Linked DNA regions of Homo sapiens: regions 2, 3, 4, 5, 6 and 7 are each linked to region 1. The links are contacts of gene promoters, found by promoter capture Hi-C in blood cells and fetal thymus (Javierre and others, 2016). All regions are on one chromosome and are shown on one strand. The core of a region is centred on a gene start or on the middle of the fragment in contact, and the rest is flanking DNA. Distances in the headings are between cores, read along the strand shown. Region 1 holds the start of SEC61G (SEC61 translocon subunit gamma). Region 2 has its middle 71 kb from the start of VOPP1-DT. Region 3 overlaps VOPP1-DT (VOPP1 divergent transcript). Region 4 overlaps VOPP1-DT (VOPP1 divergent transcript). Region 5 overlaps VOPP1 (VOPP1 WW domain binding protein). Region 6 overlaps VOPP1 (VOPP1 WW domain binding protein). Region 7 overlaps VOPP1 (VOPP1 WW domain binding protein).

What was found. Contacts are between HindIII fragments. The CHiCAGO score rates a contact against its expected background, and 5 or more counts as called.
Region 2: a contact is called between a fragment that was not itself captured here and the fragment with the promoter of SEC61G in region 1, in 2 of 17 cell types (non-activated CD4 T cells and fetal thymus). The highest score is 5.8, in non-activated CD4 T cells.
Region 3: a contact is called between a fragment that was not itself captured here and the fragment with the promoter of SEC61G in region 1, in 11 of 17 cell types (naive CD4 T cells, fetal thymus, total CD4 T cells and 8 more). The highest score is 13.3, in naive CD4 T cells.
Region 4: a fragment that was not itself captured here is called in contact with the fragment with the promoter of SEC61G in region 1 in 12 of 17 cell types (non-activated CD4 T cells, total CD8 T cells, activated CD4 T cells and 9 more); the score reaches 14.3 in non-activated CD4 T cells.
Region 5: a fragment that was not itself captured here is called in contact with the fragment with the promoter of SEC61G in region 1 in 3 of 17 cell types (monocytes, total B cells and fetal thymus); the score reaches 8.1 in monocytes.
Region 6: a fragment that was not itself captured here is called in contact with the fragment with the promoter of SEC61G in region 1 in 5 of 17 cell types (monocytes, naive CD8 T cells, total B cells and 2 more); the score reaches 7.7 in monocytes.
Region 7: a contact is called between a fragment that was not itself captured here and the fragment with the promoter of SEC61G in region 1, in 2 of 17 cell types (non-activated CD4 T cells and naive CD8 T cells). The highest score is 5.4, in non-activated CD4 T cells.

The regions. Positions count from the first base shown.
Region 1 is chr7:54,757,830-54,760,790 of GRCh38, reverse strand. It overlaps SEC61G (SEC61 translocon subunit gamma), which reads left to right and starts at 1,580. Exons shown (of 4, transcript NM_014302.4): 1 at 1,580-1,633. SEC61G-DT (SEC61G divergent transcript) reads right to left here and starts at 1,478. Exons shown (of 3, transcript NR_110040.1): 1 at 1,267-1,478. RefSeq lists an enhancer at 442-1,377 and a silencer at 1,611-1,930. The HindIII fragment of the contact is 2,422 bases long and covers 1,170-2,961 here.
Region 2 is chr7:55,641,919-55,644,879 of GRCh38, reverse strand. No RefSeq gene overlaps it. Among named protein-coding and RNA genes, the nearest start is that of VOPP1-DT, 71 kb to the right of the region's middle. The HindIII fragment of the contact is 785 bases long and covers 1,076-1,860 here.
Region 3 is chr7:55,589,472-55,592,432 of GRCh38, reverse strand. VOPP1-DT (VOPP1 divergent transcript) reads right to left here. Exons shown (of 17, transcript NR_187585.1): 7 at 2,275-2,922; 8 at 1,969-2,129; 9 at 1,726-1,778; 10 at 1,452-1,530; 11 at 964-990; 12 at 696-749; 13 at 484-526. Among named protein-coding and RNA genes, the nearest start is that of VOPP1-DT, 18 kb to the right of the region's middle. The HindIII fragment of the contact is 8,588 bases long and covers 1-2,961 here.
Region 4 is chr7:55,572,904-55,575,864 of GRCh38, reverse strand. VOPP1-DT (VOPP1 divergent transcript) reads right to left here. Exons shown (of 17, transcript NR_187585.1): 1 at 2,548-2,961. Among named protein-coding and RNA genes, the nearest start is that of VOPP1-DT, 1.6 kb to the right of the region's middle. RefSeq lists enhancers at 1,431-1,570, 1,901-1,980. The HindIII fragment of the contact is 1,657 bases long and covers 548-2,204 here.
Region 5 is chr7:55,550,619-55,553,579 of GRCh38, reverse strand. The region is part of intron 1 of VOPP1 (VOPP1 WW domain binding protein); the gene reads left to right. Among named protein-coding and RNA genes, the nearest start is that of VOPP1, 20 kb to the left of the region's middle. The HindIII fragment of the contact is 3,615 bases long and covers 1-2,961 here.
Region 6 is chr7:55,510,731-55,513,691 of GRCh38, reverse strand. All of the region lies in intron 2 of VOPP1 (VOPP1 WW domain binding protein), which reads left to right. Among named protein-coding and RNA genes, the nearest start is that of VOPP1, 60 kb to the left of the region's middle. RefSeq lists enhancers at 387-908, 909-1,430, 1,772-1,921, 2,585-2,634. The HindIII fragment of the contact is 1,764 bases long and covers 611-2,374 here.
Region 7 is chr7:55,489,073-55,492,033 of GRCh38, reverse strand. All of the region lies in intron 4 of VOPP1 (VOPP1 WW domain binding protein), which reads left to right. Among named protein-coding and RNA genes, the nearest start is that of VOPP1, 82 kb to the left of the region's middle. The HindIII fragment of the contact is 8,751 bases long and covers 1-2,961 here.

The sequences.
Region 1 (2,961 bases), core at 331-2,830:
CCGAAATCAGGTGAGTAGACAATTATAACAATACACTGTAATGAAAGTTATTTGAATGTGGCCTCTCCCAGATTACCTTCTGGTACACATCTCTTTTTGAACCAGATTTTCTTGGATAAGGGGAACCACTGTATGTGTTACTTGATTTTCTGTGTTTTGCTGAAAATACTGTCAACTCAGACATTTGGTGGTTGGGGTGAACTTGCCAACATGTGATTTTATGTTTTTTTGGAATGAATTATTTTTTTGAAAATTATTTATTGAGCATTTACTGTGTTTAGCACTTTACTAGATGCTATATTATACCCACTTGGAGCTTATGGTCTAGTAAGGGGATTTACAGTGTAGGGAGACAGACCGAGGAATAAATAAATAAATGTTAATACAAATGCTATGCAGCAAATGAAGAAGGTATTGTGAAAAAGGAAAAAAGAGCATGAGATAGACAGGATTGCCTTAGATGGTCACTATAGGCCTCTAAGGAGATGACACATGGGCTGAAGTCCCAGGGATGAAGAACTAGTCAAACGCATCTCAGTCTGTTCAGAATTTAAAAGTGACTCTTAAAGCTAAGGCAAGGTATGTGTAGTGTGTATGGACCACCTACAGTCAGATATACGGAGGTGTGTGACCTCTAACCCTGACCCACTGAATCAATATCTGGAGGTTCTGGGGTTACAAATTTCATTTACTAAAAAACTTAACAGGAGATTTCAGTTACTGAAGAAGTTTAAGAAGCACTGAGAGTTGTAACACGTCTTAATGTTCCATCAGCTCTTCCTGAGTTATATTGTTCCTCAGATCCCGTTATGCTCCATTGCTAAAAGGAAACATGGCCGGGCGCGGTGGCTCACGTCTGTAATCCCAGCACTTTGGGAGGCCGAGGCGGGTGGATCGCGAGGTCAGGAGTTCAAGACCAGCCTGGCCAATATGGTGAAACCCCGTCTCTACTGACGGTTTCAGCCATCCGGCGGGGGGTTCCTGGAATGCATCCTTGTGGGTAAGTGGGGAGCTGTGTGTACATTATGACCACTCCCGTAACCAAACCTAGCGTTTGACAAAGGCCTCAATTACAGCGGCATTCATTACCGTGAATGACAGCCAAAGTCAAAGTTTGGGGTGGGGATACTATTTTGAATTAGGCCATAACATTATATTGCTCATAAGCTTCATTTCGACCAACATTATATACATACAAAAAGTATGTACCGTAAGGACACACATCAAGCTGGACCGCAGGAAAAAAAACCACAACTTAGGATTTACCTAGTCAGCCGCTACTAGAGAGCAAGCACCGCGCAAGGCCGCTGGGGCTCGTGCTGTGGACGTGAGTGGGTTGAGGTCGGGCTGGTGGGGTAACCCGGGATCCAGCCGGAAAAAAGGGATAACGCTAGACTCACACTCCTAAGGAAGGCCAACGCCCCAACTAGCGAGCTCCGCAATGCATCTCTTCCAGGAAGCGTGGCCGGGCGCACGTCGCGCTGCGCTTGCGCACTGAGGTTTCGCGTAAGGAACCAATAGGACGGAGGAGTGGGCGGGCTGTTGGCAGAAACCCGGATTCCGGTTCCGGTGGGCCTCCATCAGCAAGCTCCAGTGCTACGTGTCCCTGGCATTTTAGGTGTCGGTTGGGTAGGTGAGTTTCTTCCCACCGGTCGGTACGGGCGAACGGGGCGGCCACACCTTTGCGACTCTTGGGGGCAGCGGGCGTGGGCGAGCCGGCGTGTCTCCCCGGGCGGCCGTCGCGGGGCGGGCGGTAAGTGGTCCCCTGGCTCAGGGCCGGGGTCTGGCCGCCGACATCCCACCAACTCGGCCTCTGGCGGAAGGCAGACCCAGGGCCGCGGACTCCCGGCGAGCTGGGTGGCCGGCCCGCGGGGCTCCAGGGCTTAGCGTCCTGCCCCGGCGTCTTCTGTGCTGCAGCCAAAGATGATGTCCTGCTGCCCGATCCCTTCGGGGTTGGCTCTGTGTGCTGTTGTGGAGTCCTGTCTGGGAAGAGCTGTACTCAGCTCTGGTCCTGCCGCCGCTTCCGTGGTTTAAAGTGAGAGCATTGGTCTAGAGTCTAGTTCGAGAGATCATAGTTGGTTTTTGGATCTCTACCCCTGACATTGAGTGCGGTATTGTGTGTAGCGTGCGTTTTTCTGGATAAAGAATTCTTAGCTTCCTTCGTGACAACTATGATTACAAAAAGTTTAAGCCCTTTGGATTTCAAGAGCAAAGTTGAGTGAAATACTGAGAAAACAGACATTACTGTGTTTTTGCCCCCAGAACGTTGCAGAATTCCTGGTGTTTCATTGACATTATTTCATTTCGTTGTCCACACCCTACACTAAGGAAGGCAACTGGGGCTTACAGAGGTTTACATTCCATAGCCAGTGATTTGAACTACCACCTGGCCACTGTTCTGAGTACTGGAAATGGAGGAAAATACAAATAACACCCTGGCTGCTTTACTTACTATAGCAGTGGCTCTCAAAGCTAAGATCGGATAACATTTCTATTGGGTAATAGATTCCTCAAAAGAACCTGTATGGTAAAATATATAGCCCTGTTTCCTTAAAAGATGTGTTCAAATCGAAAAGTTTGAAATTTAGCTAGTAGCTTCTCAGAATTTGCGTCTTCCTTTAGCCATTCTTTATACTTTAGAAAAGTATGTTGTATTGGCACGTTTTAGAAAAATCAAGGTTGAAATTCACGTTTGCCTCTATTCTAGGCTCTTGCAGCACCGTAGTTGGCATTCACTGTACAAGACACTGGCTTCTGCGTAGTTTAAAATAAAATATGGAAAGTAATTGTTGGATCTCAACACTGATGGTTCCTTAGGAGCGGTGAGGGGACTGTAGAATGAGAAATGGATGGGACTGCAGAGTGAGAAAAGGAATGGATGTGTTACCAATTGCGTAACCTTTTTTAACCTTTTAATAGAGATAGGCTTTTTATATTGCGTGTGCTGTTCTTTGTCAGTGA
Region 2 (2,961 bases), core at 219-2,718, 880 kb before region 1:
TATGCATACATAAATATATAAATACATATTTGTATAAATGTGCATGTAATAAACATAATGCAAACACACACACCAAACACACACAGATGCACTTATATTTATACTACAGGCCATAGGGCTAGCTTTTCACCTACTGGCAGGGGAGGGAACCGAAACGGCAACAGTAATCTTTCCCTGCAATTTCTATCTGACCCTACACCTGTAGCAAGCACTAAGCCAGATAATTTTAATCAGAGCAGCCCAAATTCTGTCACCTTCCACTGGGAAAGTTGTTTACTTTTCACAGATATGTCAATCAGGATAAGCGCTTTTCCTTAGAACACCTAAGGTGGGTGTATAAAATGGTGTCCCTGTATGTCTGGGTAGAGAAAGGTCTTTTTGCAAAGAGGAAGAAAGGCTAGATCTGAGCCTTCAGGATGTCCTGGGGTCAGTGTGAGTATTGGTGAGATGAAATGGTACTGGGCTGGAAAAACACGTAGGCTAGGGTAGGACCAGCTCCTCTGATACCCTCCAATATGTCCCATGAGGTGAGACAAGATGGTATCTCCTGTGAATGGCCCCAGAATAATAGGAAAGCTAAATATTCACCTCCAATTTTTTTCTCCCTCTGAAAAAATAACATGGTTACTGGAAAACACTGTGTGTGGCACTGTGCAGTTTTGGGAGAAGAGCAACTTGGTCAAAGTGAAATCATTCCTCTTACGCTTTATGCATGGCTTCTCTCGGTCTGTAGTTCAAGAAGATGTCTCAGATTCACTCTCAAGTTCTGGGATATTTACAAAGATACTCTAAACTGTGGAAAATTGTTAGTTGAATTTCTGTGGAAGTAAGTAGAGTGAGATAGTTTCTATTCTAACAACTTGCTGACATTACCCTCTCTGGTAACAAATATCTTTAAAGAAGCATATTTAAACACATTATTGTATACTATACAGCTTGGTAAACACTTTAATTTACTGAATTAATACAGTTAACAACACATCTTTTAAGTAGCATTCTTAGATTTATCTTTCATCATATAAACACTTCACTACATACATTACGTACGTTAGATCCACTCATTAAAATAAAAGCTTTTTGCCATAGAATGTTTCTTACCCAAAATGCAATGGTAAGAAACATCTTTAAAAAAATATGCTTGGTTGGCCATGGTAGGGTGGCTCACGCTTGTAATCCCAACATTTTGGGAGACTGAGGTGGGGCAGATCACCTGAGGTCAGAAATTTGAGACCAGCCTGGCCAACATGGTGAAACCCCATCTCTACTGAAAATACAAAAATTAGCGAGGTGTGGTGGCGGGCACCTATAGTCCCAGCTATAGGAGGCTGAGGCAGGAGAATTGCTTGAACCCAGAAGGCAGAGGCTACAGCTAGCCGAGATCGCACACCACTCCAGCCTGGGTGACAGAGTGAGACTCTGTGTAAAAAAAAAAAAAAAAAATGCTTAAACACTTTACACATGTATGATAGCTTATTAAACACTTAAATTCCCGGAATTAATCCAGTTAACAACATATATTTTAAGTGACATTATCCGTTTTATCTTCTTAACATGTGCCTGCAAACCTAGTGAGGTGTATGTAGTGAAATATTAGACGTACTCTCTAACATAACACTCTTAACAAGAAAGATTTTTAAATGCATAATTTAAAAAATCTATAAATAAGCATGTTTAAGGACTTCATTACATACTTTACAATTTGGTAAACACTTGCATTTAATTAATACTTACATTCACTGAATTAACACTATTATCAACTCATCAGTAACATTTTTAGAATCATCTTTTAAGCATGTGCTTATAAACACTTTACAGTGAGCCACGTTCACTCACTGATGTAACAATTTTCAGAACAAAGCTTTTAAAATGCATGGAAAGAGGCTGGGCGCGGTGGCTCACACCTGTAATCCCAGCACTTGGGGAGGCTGAGGCGGGAAGATCACCTGAGGTCAGAAGTTCGAGACTAGCCTGGCCAATATGGTGAAACCCTGTCTCTACTAAAAGTACAAAGAAAATTAGCCGAGCCTGGTGGCATCCACCTGTAGTCCCGGCTACTTGGGAGGCCGAGGCAGGAGAATCACTTGAACCTGGGGGGCACAGGAAGTTGAAGTGAGCCAAGATTGCACCATTGCACTCCTGCCTGGGTGGCAGAGTGAGACTCCATCTCAAAAAATATATATATAAATAAAATAAAATGCGTGGTAAGAAAAATCTTTAAAGAACCATGTTTAAACACTTTATTACATACATTCCAGTTTGATAATACTTGCATTCACTGAATTAACATAGTCACCAACTCATTTTATCAATGACACACTTAGATCATCTTTTAGCCATGTGTCTACTAACTATTCCCTACATAGTATTACATCCACTCACTGAAATAACACTCTTCATTACAAAGCTCTTAAAATGAATAACAAAAGCATCTTTTAAAACATGTTTAAACACATTATTGCATACTTTATAATGTGGTAAGCACTTGCATTCAATGAGTTAACATAGTAACCAACTCATCTAATAAATAACATTATTAGAATTATCTTTAATGTAAGTGTCTACAACCTCACACACATATCCACTTACTAAAAGAACAGTCTTCACAACAAAGATTTTAAGAGGTTTATTTAAAGGTATTCTTTAAATAAACATATTTAAACATTTTATTATATATTTGCAATTGGTAAACACTTGAAATCACTAAATTAATACATTTACAAATTCATTTTTCCAGCAACATCTTAGAAATATCTTTTAAGTATGTGTCTACAAATACCTTACTACATGTTACTCATTTAACACCCTTCACAGTAAAGCTTTCAAAATTCATAAGGGCAGTGACATCACCAAAAAGGCTGAGTAGAAGCAAGCTGGTTTCCACTTCCTGACCCACAGGAAATCTTAAACAAATGCACAGCACCAAGATTATCATCAGCAATATCACAGAACTCAAATATGTGA
Region 3 (2,961 bases), core at 287-2,786, 830 kb before region 1:
CTCCAGATCCCATGCATCCTCCCAGGATACCCCATTCCCAGAGCCTCCCTCCCAGGCATCCCCCCATTCCCAGGCTCCCCACAGTCCAAGATCCTTACTCACAGATACCCATATTCCCAGAAACTTGGCTGCCCTGACTCTCCTTTCCCCCCACACTCCCCATGTGTACCCTGCAGAACAAGTGGAGGGCACAGAGGGTCTTGAAGAACAGGGATGCAGCCCCTGCTTCCAAGACACCTTTAGTCACTCCCTACTGCCCTTGAGGACAATGGGATACACATAGAAAGTCTAGCCTATAAGGGGAGTCCCCTGGTCCCCTTCCGTTCAAGGACAGGGTGGAAAGCCTCACTCCAAGGATGGTTGGGAGCAGAGACTCCTGGCCGCAGAGGAGCTACAACTCAAGGAAGTCACAGGAAAAGAGGGGGGGTGCAGCTGAGAGGGGTGAAGGGAATTCTGAAGCAGGGCCCTGGAGCTGTCACTCACCTGACACCCGGCTCACCCTGGATTCCTGGAGATCCTGACTCTCCTGGCTCCAGGAGCAAAGAGATTGGGGTCAAAAACCTCATTGCCCCCTCACAAAATCCTGGTATTTCTCACATTTTATTCTCTTTTGTCTCCTCAACAAAAAATTGGCAGAAATCCAACTGTCATTCCTCATCCACAAGACTGGTCCCCTTCATCCCTTTCCCAATTACCTTCTCTCCAGGGGGACCCAGGGCCCCAACACCTCCCAGGGGATCTTGTGGACCCTGAAAGAGGAAGAGAAATAGGTGACATCGCTTCAGGAGGTGGGGTTATTGCAGGGGCAGAGGCCCAGATGAGCATCCCAAGGTTATGGCAGTGGGACAGTGGGGGCCTCCCAGGGGAAGGGGCTTCTCAGGGGCGAAGAGTTTATGATCTGAGGAAAGGGACGCAGAGGATCAGACTCATTGCTCTGAAGTGGCAGGGGCTGGGATGACTCACACCAGTGCCACTGGGTCCAGGTAGTCCCTGCAGGGGAACAGATACACCAGAGGTGGGGAAGGGAAGTGAAATGGCACAATGAAGGAGTGTGGAGGGAGGAAGAGCAGTCAGGGCAGGGAGGCAGCAGTGGGGTGGGGGCTGGCCAGGCAGGGGTGACCATTTGGGGTCTGGGGTCAGTAGGGGTCACATTCACCATAGGACCCACATCTCCTGTTTCTCCCTTCTCCCCAGAGGGACCTGGCACACGCTATGCAGGTGCAGAAAGCATGGACCCAGGTGACCACCCACCCAAAGCACAGCCCTAGACTGATGGGTCCCACAGCCCCTCCACTCAGACCCCACATGGCCCCCAGGCTTCTGCCCCCACCAACCCAGTCCTTAAAGCATGTTGCTGGCAGGGTCTGGGACACACATCACCCCATCCTGACACTGCCTCTCAGCCCGTCCCCAGCCGCATCTCACCTATAGATTCATGAATCCTGTTCTACCTTTATTGCCTTTGGCTCCCCACACTCTGGCTCCAAAGTGTCCCTGGGGTCCCTGAGCTCTGGGCTCCCAATCTGCTCCCTGGGGAAGGAGAGAAGCAGGGACAAGGACATAGACATGGGTCATGGGTCAGGCATTCTCTATTCACGAACCCCATACATAGCTGGGTACCAGGCCCAGAGACCCCACTCCCAAACCCAGCCTCAGGGGCAAAGGGGAGTTGAAGGCAGAGCAGAGGCTGCCAGGGCCTTGCGTGGGGGCCGAGGGTTCACTCACCACTGCTACAGGCTGTTCCATGGACCAGTGAGTCCAGGGGGTCCAGGAGGGCCCTGGGGGAGAGACGAGAGTCAGAAACACCAAGGCAGGGAGGAACCAGGAGGGAATGAGGTTAAAGGCCAGGGCGTCAAGGTCATGGACACTTTGATGCCCTTCTTCCTGGGGTCCCCCACCTCATCCTGGAGGAGAAGGCACAGGAGATACCAGAGGGAGGAAATGATAGAGCTCAGGAGTCAAGCCCACCTCAGCCCTCTCATGTGGAGAGAAGATTGGTCGGGTTCTCTGGGGTTCTCCTCTTGGTCTCCATCTTCTCCAGCCACACCTGGAGGCCCAGCAGGACCAGGAAGTCACACAGGACTCTGCACCCTATCACAGCCAGGCAGACAAATGGGGCCCTTTTCACCCTGTGGGGCAGGAAGGAGGAGTCATGGCCTGGAGGTGACCCTCACCCTCAAACACCCACAGGAAACCTTTCATAGCCCATCACCCCTCAGCCCACAGACCCCTCCCCAAGAACCACTCCCAAGGTCCCCACTCTCACTGGGACACCTGTCTCTCCTGCTGATCCAGGGGGTTCCTGAGGGCCTGGGCACCCTGGCGGGGGGCAATGGGTCCCTTGATCCTGCTGCACCTCACTCCCTAGGGGGGAACCCTGAAAGTTGAGATGAGTGAGATCCCCAGGGAGGAAGACCCAAGCCCACTCATACCAGGGCCCTCAGAGCACAATTCCCAGGAGAAGAGCCCCAAATCAGCTGCATTCTGGCTGACTCTAGATTCCCTCTGCCCAGTCCCACAGCACCTGCGTAGATCTGGATGCCACCTCCACCCTGCCTCAACACCCCCTTTCCTAGTTCCCTCCTCCCACTCCCCAGGAACCCCAGGCTCCCTGCAGGGTAAGGGGGCCAACTGGACCTCATTCCTCTTCAAGCTGGGTCCACACTCTGAAGCAGAGATTTGGGGAAGGTGGAGCTTCACAGAAAAGAGAAGGGTGAGGGCTGGCGAGAGGAGATAGGTTCAGAGAGATGGGAGTGGGGAGTGGCATGGAGCAGGGTCAGGGTCAGGGAGGGGTTCAGGTCACTTGGTCCTTGGTCCAGGCAGGGCTCTGGGAGTCACACTCACAGCAGTGCCTAGGAGGCCTCTCTCTCCTGGGAAGCCCCTCAGACCAGGAACATCCTTCCCTTGAACCCCATGGACACCCTAAAAGAAAAGGAGAGGTGAGGAGCGACAGCCATCCGT
Region 4 (2,961 bases), core at 127-2,626, 820 kb before region 1:
ACCCATAAAGGTAGTAGCAGCCCCAAACTCCATTTGCACAACTCTCTCTTGAGTATGCCAGCAATCGCTTTCTTGAGTGCTTTTTGCTTTGCAATAAATCATACTTTCACTATTTTCGACTCATCCTTGAATTCCTTCTTGTGATGGTGTCAAGAGGCTGGACACCGGCGGAGGTCAAGATCCCCTTGGCATTTGGGGGACCTCCCCTAGCCCACTGGTATCAACATCACATCCATCTCCTCACTGCTCTTCCAGCCTCCACCCTTCCCTCCACCCTTCCCAACCCTGCCCTAGTCTGTTTTCTACACAGCACTAGGGCTGATGCTTTGAAGGCTTAAGCCAGATTACATTACTTTTCAGCTCAAAATCCTCAAATGATATCCCATTTCTTTCAGAACTAAATCCAAGATCCTTATAATGGACTACAAATCTGAGCGTCCATTTCTTCTTTGAATTCAGATTCTACCCCTGCTAAGGGAGCACAGAGCTCCAGCCTCACCGATCCTGTCAGGAAATTCCTCAGGCCCGTTTTTCCTGCCTCAAAGCTTTGATTAATAGTCTTGTTTTGCCCCCTTTCCTACCTTTGGGTCTCTGCTCCTGGCAATTTGCCATAGGGGCCTGGCCTGGCCCTCCTATTTTTTTTTTTTTTTGAGACGGAGTTTAGCTCTTGTTGCCCAGGCTGGGGTGCAATGGTGCGATCTCGGCTCACCAAAACCTCTGCCTCCCGGGTTCAAACGATTCTCCTGCCTCAGCCTCCCGAGTAGCTGGAATTACAGACATATGCACTACCATGCCCGGCTAATTTTGTATTTTTAGTAGAGACAGGGTTTCTCCATGTTGGTCAGGCTGGTCTCGACCTCCCGACCTCAGGTGATCTGCCCTCCTCGGCCTCCCAAAGTACTGGGATTACAGGCATGAGCCACTGTGTCCGGCCGACCCTTGTATTTTTAATTACACTCAGTCTTACCTTCCAAATGTTTCACTCAATTTATTTTTCTTTCTGGCACTTATATACATATTTATTTATTTATTCTATTCTCTGTTACCCCTCACTAGATTGAAATCTGCATGACAGCAGCCACTCTGCCTTTTATGCCACTGCTTTGTCTATTTTACTCAGGGCTGTATCCGAAATGTCCAGAATAGTGCCTGGCCCAAAACAGATGCAGATAAATATTTATTGAATAAATGAAATACATGTTCATCATTCATGTAGACTCCACAGTTTTGCAGGGAAGCTACAGGTCAAGCCCAGTCTCTCTCTTATTTGTTTCCTTTGGCAACACACATGCTCCAGGCTCTGGGTCCTTACTCCTCAGGGGCAGCTGAGCAGACCAGGACATGTCCAGTCCTGCCCCAAACAACTCATCAAGAACTTTCTTCTAACCCCAAGTCCAACTTTAACAGTTGTTCTAGTGAATGCAGCTTTATCTTGTAACTTTTTCAGTGGTATCTGATGCCCTTATAATTTGTGCTCAAGGAAACAGCCTGGCTGGTTAGCCTACACCCCATCCTCCAACCATGCCAAGCAACCACCACATCATTCAGGACCAAACAGAGAGCACACAGGAGAGGTATCAGACTGAGGTGAAAGCAGAGTCACAGTTCTAATTTTATTCTTGGAAAAAAACTTGCACAAATTACAGGAAGTCGAGCTCAGCAAAACAATCTTCCAGGCAGAGAGAGATGCAGAAGGGAGGTTATGTCAGACACTAGTAGGTTGCTCACAATGCAACAGAACCACAATTTGCACACGAATACATCGTGGACACAAGTCAAAGTTCCATTTTAACCCATTAATGATGGAAACAGTGGGATGACAAAGGTGCTTCAAAGGAGAATGCAGGCAAGTGACCTACACACACAGTCAAAAGCGGGGAGAAAAGAGAAAGGAAACGCTGGGAATGAAGTGGCTCAATCAGATAGGAAGCTGGTTATGATTCTCACCTTAAGCAGGGGTCATTTGTCTTATACACACACACACACACACACACACACACGTTTTAATGGAGACAGGTTCTTGCTGTGTTGCCCAGGTTGGGGTTGGTGAACTCCTGGGCTCAAGCAATTCTCACACCTCAGCTTCCCAGACTGCTGGGATGATAGGCATGAGCCACCCTGCCTGGCCCATTTGCATTTTTACAGGACGAGATCACTTCTATCCCCACTGGAAAAACATTTGTCTTGCTAACACACAATAAGCTTTCAGCTTAGTTTTCTACAAGTTAACTTTTCCATTAAAAAGAGTTGTAAAATGTCCTCATTGTAAATAGTAAAACTACTAGAGTTCAATGGCGTTTGGCAGGCTTGTCAGATAGGTGCCTTAGCATGACTGAAGGCCATAGGCATTGTTTCTGTCTTACTTGTAAGTTCTGGCTCTGACAGGTATAGTCAGGTGGTGCATGCTCTATATTAATCAAATTAGGCTTTGAAAGCTGGGAAAGAGTTGGGGACTTGCCTCGGGTGACATCTGTTCGTGTGACCCCCTCCTTCCACCTCCTGTACTGCGCAGCTCATGTCCTTTATGACCCTCTGTGATGCACCCACCTCCTGGTCTCCGCACTCAGCATTCTGCATCAGGTGGTTTAAGCGACTCTCCCTCCCTCTAGGCTACGGGAGCAGTTTTCTTGTCCTCCTCTCAGCCTCCAACTCAGGATCTGGTACATCTTACAAGTTTAATAGTGTTTGTTGAATAACCTCATGAAGAAGGTGGGATCTGAGCTGTGTTGTGAAAAAATAGTGTCTGTGAGGACATGGAGGTGGGGTCAGCGGAGGCGAGGACAGCGCGAGCTCCGCACAGTTTTCTGCTGCGGGAGGGTGGCCTGCAAGGCGGGGCCGGTTGCGGTCAAGTTCAAGTAGGGTCAGAGCAGGAGAACACTGGCATAAAAAATAGCCACATCCAAGGAAGCAGTGAGGTGTGGGGACCATCTATTTCGGTGGGCCTTCCCACCCCCAGGCCGG
Region 5 (2,961 bases), core at 70-2,569, 790 kb before region 1:
TACTTTTGACCCCTAATTTGTATCATTGGTTTCGTTAAGGGATATATTTAAATGAAAACCAGAAATGTTAGGCCTAGATCTATCATCTAAATAATATTTATTTTATGGTAAATGAATTGGAGTTTACAGCCAAGCCTAGTGACCTTTGGGTCTGCAACATGGGAAAACAGCCCGTTGCTCCCCAGGCTAGTCTTTTTATTTTCCTCACTCTGGGAAGCAGTCCCCTTAAAGAGGTTTTTACTGGTGACTCCTCCCAAGTACTGCAAAAGTAGAAATGAAAATTTCTCCCCAATAAAATCCTGTTAGGTGTTGGAACTAAAATATGAATCTAAAATATAAAAATAGCCTGTATAACAGAGGAACTGCAGCTCCTTTCCAACAATGCCTCCTGCTAGGGCAACACATATATTGGAAATGAGATTATGAGATATAATTAACTTGTCTGCCTATACTGTTACTCTTTGAATGTTTCCAAGTTTATTTTAGGAAGATTGACAGTCATAATTATATTGTCAAGCATTTGTCATTTTTGCTGTAGCAATAACACTGAAACTCAGACAAAAAGCTCCCACCTGACTTTGATTGGAATGGTGCAGCAGACAGATTTCGGTTGCATGTCTTTTCCTACAGCGCCTTAGCATTTGTCAGCAATTTGCAGCTAGCAGCACGTATAATTTTTTCTTCGGGTTCAGGAGTTTAGTCTAGGAGGAAATCCTGTTGTGTTGCCATAGTGCTCCGTCACCTTTCTGGGTTGAGCATGGCTGAGTGACTCAGCCCATGGGAGGTTTCCTAGGAGAACAGGCTCCACTTGCTGCCTCTCTGCGTGAACTCCGTGTGCCGGCAACCTGGCGACCAGACTCCTGCCTTCGGAGGGGCTGGGGCTCCAGGACCTGAGTGCCCCCCATTGTTGGAAGGCGGTGTCATATGGTAGGAAAAGGGCAACTTTGGAGCCACACAGACCTGGTTCCAGCACTTTCTTTTGAGGCATCAATCACTTAGCGTTTTCCTAGACTTCATTTGTCACCCTGGGAAAATCATGCTTGTGTTGCTGGGCATGTGTAAGCATGGAGATCCATCCTGTGTGAGTGTGTAGGTCTGAAAAATAATGGGTGTCTAATAAGGGGTAGCTGGCATCCTTAATATGTGTCATCTGCTTTCTGATAGAGGCAGCCATTTGATTTAAGACAGAAATGGGAAACTATTTCCCACCCCATTCCTATGAAGAGAACAGCATTTTGCGATAGTCTGAGCTTCTTGGGAGGAGAGGCATTTTGTACGGAGGTTTTAAAATCAGCTAAATTACCTTCTTTCTGTCATTGCTATTTCTAAATCCAAAAGGTGCTTATATTTGTCCATCTTACCCAGTCCCTCAGTGGACTGCCTTGCCCATGCAGTGCATGTTAATAACTAGCAGAGGCACAGACCTCAACCCTTGTAGGCCCACTGCTTCCTTTTCCACAGGGTCACTGGTCCCTGACCTGGCTAACCTGGCTCCCAGGGCTTTCCCTCCACCTCCACACCTTGTCAACACCTTTTTTTTTTTTTTTTTTTTTTTTTTGGACACAGTCTCACTCTTGTTGCCCAGGCTGCAGGGTCACTGCAACCTCTGCCTCCTAGGTTCAAGCGATTCTCATGCCTCAGACCCCCAAGTAGCTGCAACTATAGGCATGCGCCACCATGTGTGGCTAATTTTTGTATTTTTAGTAGAGACGGGGATTCACCATGTTGGCCCGGCTGGTCTCAAACTGCTGATCTCAAGTGATCCACGCTCCTGGGCCTCCCAAAGTGCTGGGATTACAGGCGTGAGCCACCCCGCCCAGCCTTCAACATGTATTTTGTATTTGATAATTTCCTCCTTCAGATTTTTTCTGCTTTCCCTCCCACTGCGTGTAAGATGAAAGAGAGGCCCTCTTCCTCCACCTCAGCCCTGACCGTGTTGAACCCTTCCCCACTTGGAGTTTCTTTCCCTTTTTCCTAAGGGAAGGGGGAAAAACAAGGTGACCTTTTCCATTTCTAGAAATGGAAAAACTAGACCAGAGCTTATTGACAGATTTCCTGAGGGAAAGAAACACCAAGTGTTTGTGCATTTAATTATTTGCGTCTGATGGGAGAATTGACTTTCGAGGCATGCTTTGGGGAGCACTCAGAACCCGATTTTGAAGGGAAAGCATTTTGTGCTGTTTCAGCCCTGCTGGACGTATTTGCCAGCACAGGTGTACGGTGTGCACGTGGGGTTCTGGTGCTCCACGCCCTAACATTCCAGGACATTGCTTTGATGTCAGTGAAAACTTCCATTGACTCTAGGAGTGATGAAACAGCAGCAAGCATGGCAAATAGGTTTATTTCACATGAAGCCTTGCTTGTCTTCTTGGTAGCGACAGCCTGGAGTGCCTTGCTGTAGAGAAGTCTGGAAGAATGCTATGGCTGATGAGGGAAGTTATGTCTGCGGGATGGTAGGGCTCATGGTTTGTTGTTTTCTCTGCATAACAGGGAGATAATTTGCCAACCCAACCAGAGCACTCAGTGTCTTCATGCTGTCATGTGCCCCTTCGCCTGTCACCATGCCCTTCCCTCTTCTCGGGCTGTCCTGTGTGTCTCTTAGTTCTCATTTTAGATACAGCCTTCTCCAGGAAGCCTGCCCTGATTCCTTCAAGCCAGTGTAGCCTCTGACTCTAAAATTTAATTGCTTTATTATGAAAATAAGCCTAATGCATTCTAATTGTGGAATAATTGGAAAGTAGAAAAATATACAGACACGAAAATAGGTCATGTTTTCCTTCCAGCCATTTTCTGCGCAATTTTCATACACTGGTCGTTAACATATACTCAATAGTGCATCCTTCTGTCACGAGCATTTCCATTCCGTTAAAAATTACCCATCAGCCTGTTAGCGGCTGTATAATCCTTCGCGATAGGGCTAATGGTGGACTCGCGAGTGCCCCTGACATTGAGTATTTAATT
Region 6 (2,961 bases), core at 243-2,742, 750 kb before region 1:
ATCTAGTTTTACTGACTTGGCAGCTGACACCAGGAGATGCTAAGTCTCCCTGGGCCTGCAGCATCTTTAGAGGTCTTTTGCATGACTAGGTCACATCTCTGGCTGTCACATGGATGGGGCAGAGCTGCAGGGCATTTGGGTTCTGGGTGTTCTGTTTGCTCACTTATTTTAGTTTTTCCTTCAGATCTAGGTACCACTGAAGGAAAGAATGTGGGGAAGCTTCTCGGAAGTCAACTCCACTGAGACGATAGGGAATTCACACACTGCCAAGCTCAAAGGAGAGCATGGAAGGGAAAAAATGGATGGCTGCATGTTGTCAAACCGCTGGATAAGGGGAAGATAGGATCCATGAAACAGAATTAAGGAATACGATCATCAGTGTCATGGCTTACCTAGTACCTGTAATTTCCAGAGCACCACTCAAGTGGGAGGGAGCCAGTGTGTAGGGATGATGGGAAGTTAGCGATGAGGGAGGCAGGGCCTGTCCTGGAGGAGCCCAGGGTCCAGGGCTTATCCAGCAGGAGGCAGAGCCCATTCCTGCCAGCACTATCGATTTTGACCAGGCTGCTTTCAGGCCCTATTCCCAAGTTTCCTGTTGGAGCGTGAAGCTTCTTTTTAAAGTGCTTATATTACCCTGTGTTGTTGGCTGCCTCTGGGTTCATTTCTCTGCTGTGAATAATTAATGCTGTGAGTGGATGAAGTGCTGTTCACAGGTGTCAAATCAAGATCCAGAGACAAGGTTGGCAGAGCCAGCACCGCTGGGCCACTTTACCTGCCTGCTAGGGGCGCAGGTGCCAGAGTCAGTCCCAGGCTCCCTGGACACAAGGTCACCTCTCACCAGCAGGTGCCCTTTATGGCTCTGTGGACAGACTCTGAGCCTGATGGGGAGGCCCCTCTGTGCAGAAGTCAGCTGGACTCCTTCGCTGAGCTCTCCTGCAGCACTGGGGCCTTCCAGGATGCGTGGAAGAGGGCAATGGGGGCGGGGGCGCTTCCCTAGCTGAGTGCTCCATACGCCTGCTGCAGACCCTCACTATTTTGCCGTCAGGAGATGGAGCACAGCCTTCGGGTTGCAGCCTGGAGGGGGCAGATATTCAAGAGCAGAATTTCTTTTCTCTCAGTTCTTGTTGGATTTATCAATGAAGATTCCTGGTGTAAGTTGAAGACACCGTCTCTATAACAGGGAGAAATTTTCACTGGTGATCTTCTGCTTAAGAACTTTAGACCCCTAAAATGTGACCTTGATTTATTTTTCTTTTCCTTTTTTTTTTGAAACGGAATCTCACTCTTGCCCAGGCTGGAATGCAGTGGCACGATCTCGGCTCACTGCAACCTCCGCCTTCCAGGTCCAGGCGACTCTCCTGTCTCAGCCTCCTGGGTAGCTGGGATTACAGGCACGTGCCACGACACCTAGCTAATTTTTGTATTTTTAGTAGAGATGGGGCTTCACCATGTTGGCCAGGCTGGTCTCGAACTCCTGACCTCAAGTGATCCGCCTGCCTCGGCCTCCCAAAGTGCTGCGATACAGGTGTGAGCCACTGCTCCCAGCTGAGCTTGATTCCTTTTAACTGTACATTGTGACTATGCTTCTAAATCAGTATACAAAGCCCCTCATGCTTTTTGATAGTAGCAGAATATTTCCTGGGGATGCCTCATCATTCATTTATACAGGTAGTGTCTATATTTAGGAGTTTTTGTTTTGTTTAACTATTGAAGGTTCTCAGTTCCTTGTCTGTAATTCTTATAAACCCAGTAAATCTGAGACGGGTGTCAGTTAATTTAGAAAGTTTATTTTACTAAGGTTGAAGATGTGCACCAGTGTCACAACCCCAGGAAGTCCTAACAACACGTGCCCAAGGCAGTTGGGGCACTGCTTGGTTTTATATATTTTAGGCAGACATGAGATATCATCAATATATGTAAGAAGTACATTGGTTCATCCGGAAAGGCAGGGACAACTGGAAGCAGGGAGAGGGCTTCCAGGTCACAGGTAGGTGAGGGACAAGTGGTTGCATTCTTTTGAGTTTCTGATAAGCCTTTCCAAAGGAGGCAATCAGAATATGCATCTATCTCAGTGAGCAGAGGATGACTTTGAATGGAATGGGAGGCAGGTTTGCCCTGAGGAGTTTCAGCTTGAATTTTCCTTTTAGCTTAGTGATTTGGGGATTCAAGATATTTTTCTTTCACATTCTAAAATTTTAAGCTGTGCTCCTAAACAAATTTTTAATAATTCACTTGGTAGCAAGAACATATTTGAGCAGACATGAGGCTATTTATAGTCTTTAAAAGTTCCGTTTGGTATGATGTTTCATATATTTTAATGCTGGCTGTATTACATGGAGTGAATTTGCAGAAATTGAATTGCTGAATCAAAGCTTATACTTATATTCTACTAAATACCGTCCGACTGCTCTCCCTGAGGGTCATCATGATAATAGGCTATCATTGCCTGGGAGCACCTGTTTCAAACTGTCCCCGCCAGCACTGTGTTAACATTTTAATCAGTTTCCTTTGTATGCTTTGAGTTCATATTGTTTCCATCTTTGCTGATTTCCCTTTCTGCTGCAACATCCCTTCTGTTTAAGTCAAAACCTTTACAAGGTTCTGAAACCAAGGTGGATACCTGGACTATGCATAGAGGAATGAGATGGGGTTGCTCTCAAGGTCATGTCTGGTGTAGAAGACAGAGGCCTCTAACAGTTAACCACAATATTGCACATGGTGAGAACTGTAGAAATGGGGGTCCTGCCAAGGGAGGAGCAGGACAGATTGGGGAGGGCAGGGGATGGTGTTGGGAGAGACCTCACAGGGCTGATCTTTGAAGCGGGGTGGAGCAGAGACTTTGGGAGGAGTGCAGGCATGGGAGCATGAAGGTGCAGGGTGCAGTGGGGACCATGGGGCTGGAGTTCAGGGTGCCTGGTGGATGGCAGGAGATGAGATGGGAAAAAGAGGGAGAAGCCTAGC
Region 7 (2,961 bases), core at 211-2,710, 730 kb before region 1:
TTGTATAAGCGTATTATTTGCTCTCTGCCCTTTTCCTTAAACATTATTTCACATATAAATTTCTGTGTAGGAGCGGTAATACCCCTGCCATTTTTAGTGCTTCTGGACTAGATACTAATTATGTTACTAAATGGTAATTTGCTTAGATATTTTATTATTGCTGATAATTTGTTTTGTTTTCTCATGTTTTGTCTTTTATTCATGCATTCAACAAGTATTCATTGTGCAGTTACTAGTATTCCAAATACTTACAAAGACCATAGCAATAGACATTCTTGTACAGGTCACATGTAGTCTGTTTAGTGCATAACACCCAAAGTGACATCCCAGGGTCAAAATGAATTAGCTGTTTCTTAATTCTTGTAAAACATTGCCTTAGCCATCTAAAACTCCTACATACTGTGGTGGGTGGTGTGGACTTCCTTAGGACACAGGCCAGGGAGCTCTCTGATGACAGCGGGGAGCCAAGGGTCCTGGAGGGCTGGGCTGGCTCGGCTCATCAGAGCGCTGGTCTTCTGGCCAGGTGTAGAGTGAGGCTGGGCAGAGGGGTGTTGCTGATGTCTGCACCGCCATGCTCCCAGCCACAGTTTCCACCTGGGAGCCTGGGGATGGGACTGTCTATTGATTGCACACTGTGGATAGGTGGTCAGTTCTAGGAGCAGTGGATGCCTTCGCTTTTACAAAGTTTCAGTTAAGAAAAATGAATAAGTCCTAGAGATCTATTGTACAGTGTAGGACCTACAATTAATACAACTGTAATGTATAATTAAAATTTTGCTAAGAGGGTAGGTCTTATGTTAATATATGTTCTTATCACACAAAAATAACAAGAAGAGCAGAGAAAACTTTTGTAGGTAATAGAGATGTTTATGGAATAGAGCATGGCTATGGTTTTCTGGATGTGCCCCTGTCTTTAAACTCATCAGGTTGTAGGTCTTAAACATGCACAGCTTTTTGCCTGTCAGTCAGACCTCAATAAAGTGGTTTTTAAATAGGAGAGAAGTAGAGGGATTGAATGTAATAGGAGAAAATTATCTTCTCTCTTCTGTTTTCCTGAGAACAGGCTGTTATCAAGATGCAAAGTCATTTGCATATTTGTTCTTTTACAGCTTTTTTCCACCAGATACTCCACAGGGTTTTCCTTTCAGAAAGAATTTTCTTTATTTTAAAAAATGTTGCTCAGAAAAATATATATTTTCCACAGCAGTTCACTGAGAGCTGTGCCTTAAACTTACAGTCAGGTTAGTACCATTTTGAATCCGTAAGTGGATTTTAGCCTTTGATATTTGGAAATATTTGAATCGTTTCAGATTTGTGCTGCATCATAGGGTAAAGTGCAAAATTTCTGTTAAAATGAGAGATGAAAGCCGCCACTCACTGGGTCTCATCTGGATCAGTCAGAGAGGTTTTAGTACAGGGAGGAGCAGCCCCTGCCCCACTTGGCATGGGAGGCCCCACTGCCCCCAGTGCAGAAGGCCACATGTCCCTGGTCCGTGGTCCTGGCCGAGCTCAGAGTCTACCACTCATGTGAACTGGGGCTCTTGTGGTGAGTAGGTGAGGTGCTGAGACTGTGCCTGCAGCTGCATAATTCTTTTGAACCCTGGCATGCCAGGGTTTTGAGAAGAGAATGCATCCCTATGTGCACTCCTTTCTGGTCCCATCCCTCTGTTCTGCACAGCCCCACACCCCACCTAACCCCGCTCCATCTGTCTGGGAGAATCCCCAGCAACCAGGCGATTAGATCTGCCACATCCCTTATCTCACCCTGGAGCAGTGCCTGCTGGCCACTGGTCTCCACCAGCTCCTCTGTCTTCCACTTGGCTATCAGAAGGGTCTTAAAAAACAAAAAACAGAAGCACATCGGCCGTGCTATTTTTCTGCGGCAGGGTCTCTGCCAGCTCACCTGGCTCACAGTGTAAGTCCACAGTCCCTAGCTGAGGACTGAGGACGCATTCACAGCTTCCTCAGACCCATCCCCGCTCCTCTGTGTCCAGTTTGAGCGACCTCCTCTCTCTAGTCCTGCATCGCACTGAGGCCTGCACACGCCCTCCTTCTGCCTGGAAAATGCCTTCCTCCAAGGTGCTGCTCTGTGTTGTACCCATAGTGAAGTTGTCTCTGGCTGCTTCACATCTCCACTTTCTCCCTGGGTCCCCTGCCAGGGGCTTTACCAGCTTTAATGCTCCATGTTTACACTGGGCTCCCCACGGGGCTGTGTACAGGACTCATGGTCTCAGGCACCAAGTAGATGCCCGGCCCTCATCCTCAGGCTGGATGAACTGTGGGAGCTCCCAGGTTTGCAGCCTGGTAAACCAGGGTCGGAATACATCACAACTACAGTCACAGCCTGGAGCGCAGACCTGCCTGAATTGCTGTCTTGGCCCATATTTACTGCACACCTGCTGAGGCGCCTGCAGGAGCTCAAAACACTGCACAGCCTGGACACCTGCCCTCAGTCACCGCTGCATGCACAGCTCCAGCACCCGTGTGAGCTTTCACGCAAACAACTCTATAGTGACTGACCATCATGAGTGCGAGGGAGAGAAAGTTGAGAATGCTAGGAAACCATGTAAGTAGGAGACTCCATCTGGTGCACAACTCCAGGAAGGCTTCCCACGGAAGAGCCATTTGGATTAAGAATAAGTAAGCCCCCAGCTCTCTACAGCGAGTGGCTGCTGGTCCCAGCGCATCTTCTCTGACCAAAATGTAGACTTGGTTTGCCATCCGTTTTTCATTTTATACTTCTTGCAGGCCTGCAACGGTGTGGCTGATCCCAGGATATCCAGACTGTCATATGAAAGCAGGCTCCCAGGGCTCCCGGTAGTGTACAGTTTCCATCATTTCCCTGTCAGGTCCAGGGCTGGATCATTTGTTAACAGTGCTGAGCTTGGGAAGAATTCAGCTGTTTCCTAGACAGAGTAATAGTGAACAAAAGAATGGGGTCTGCAGGGTCCTGTCTGCTGT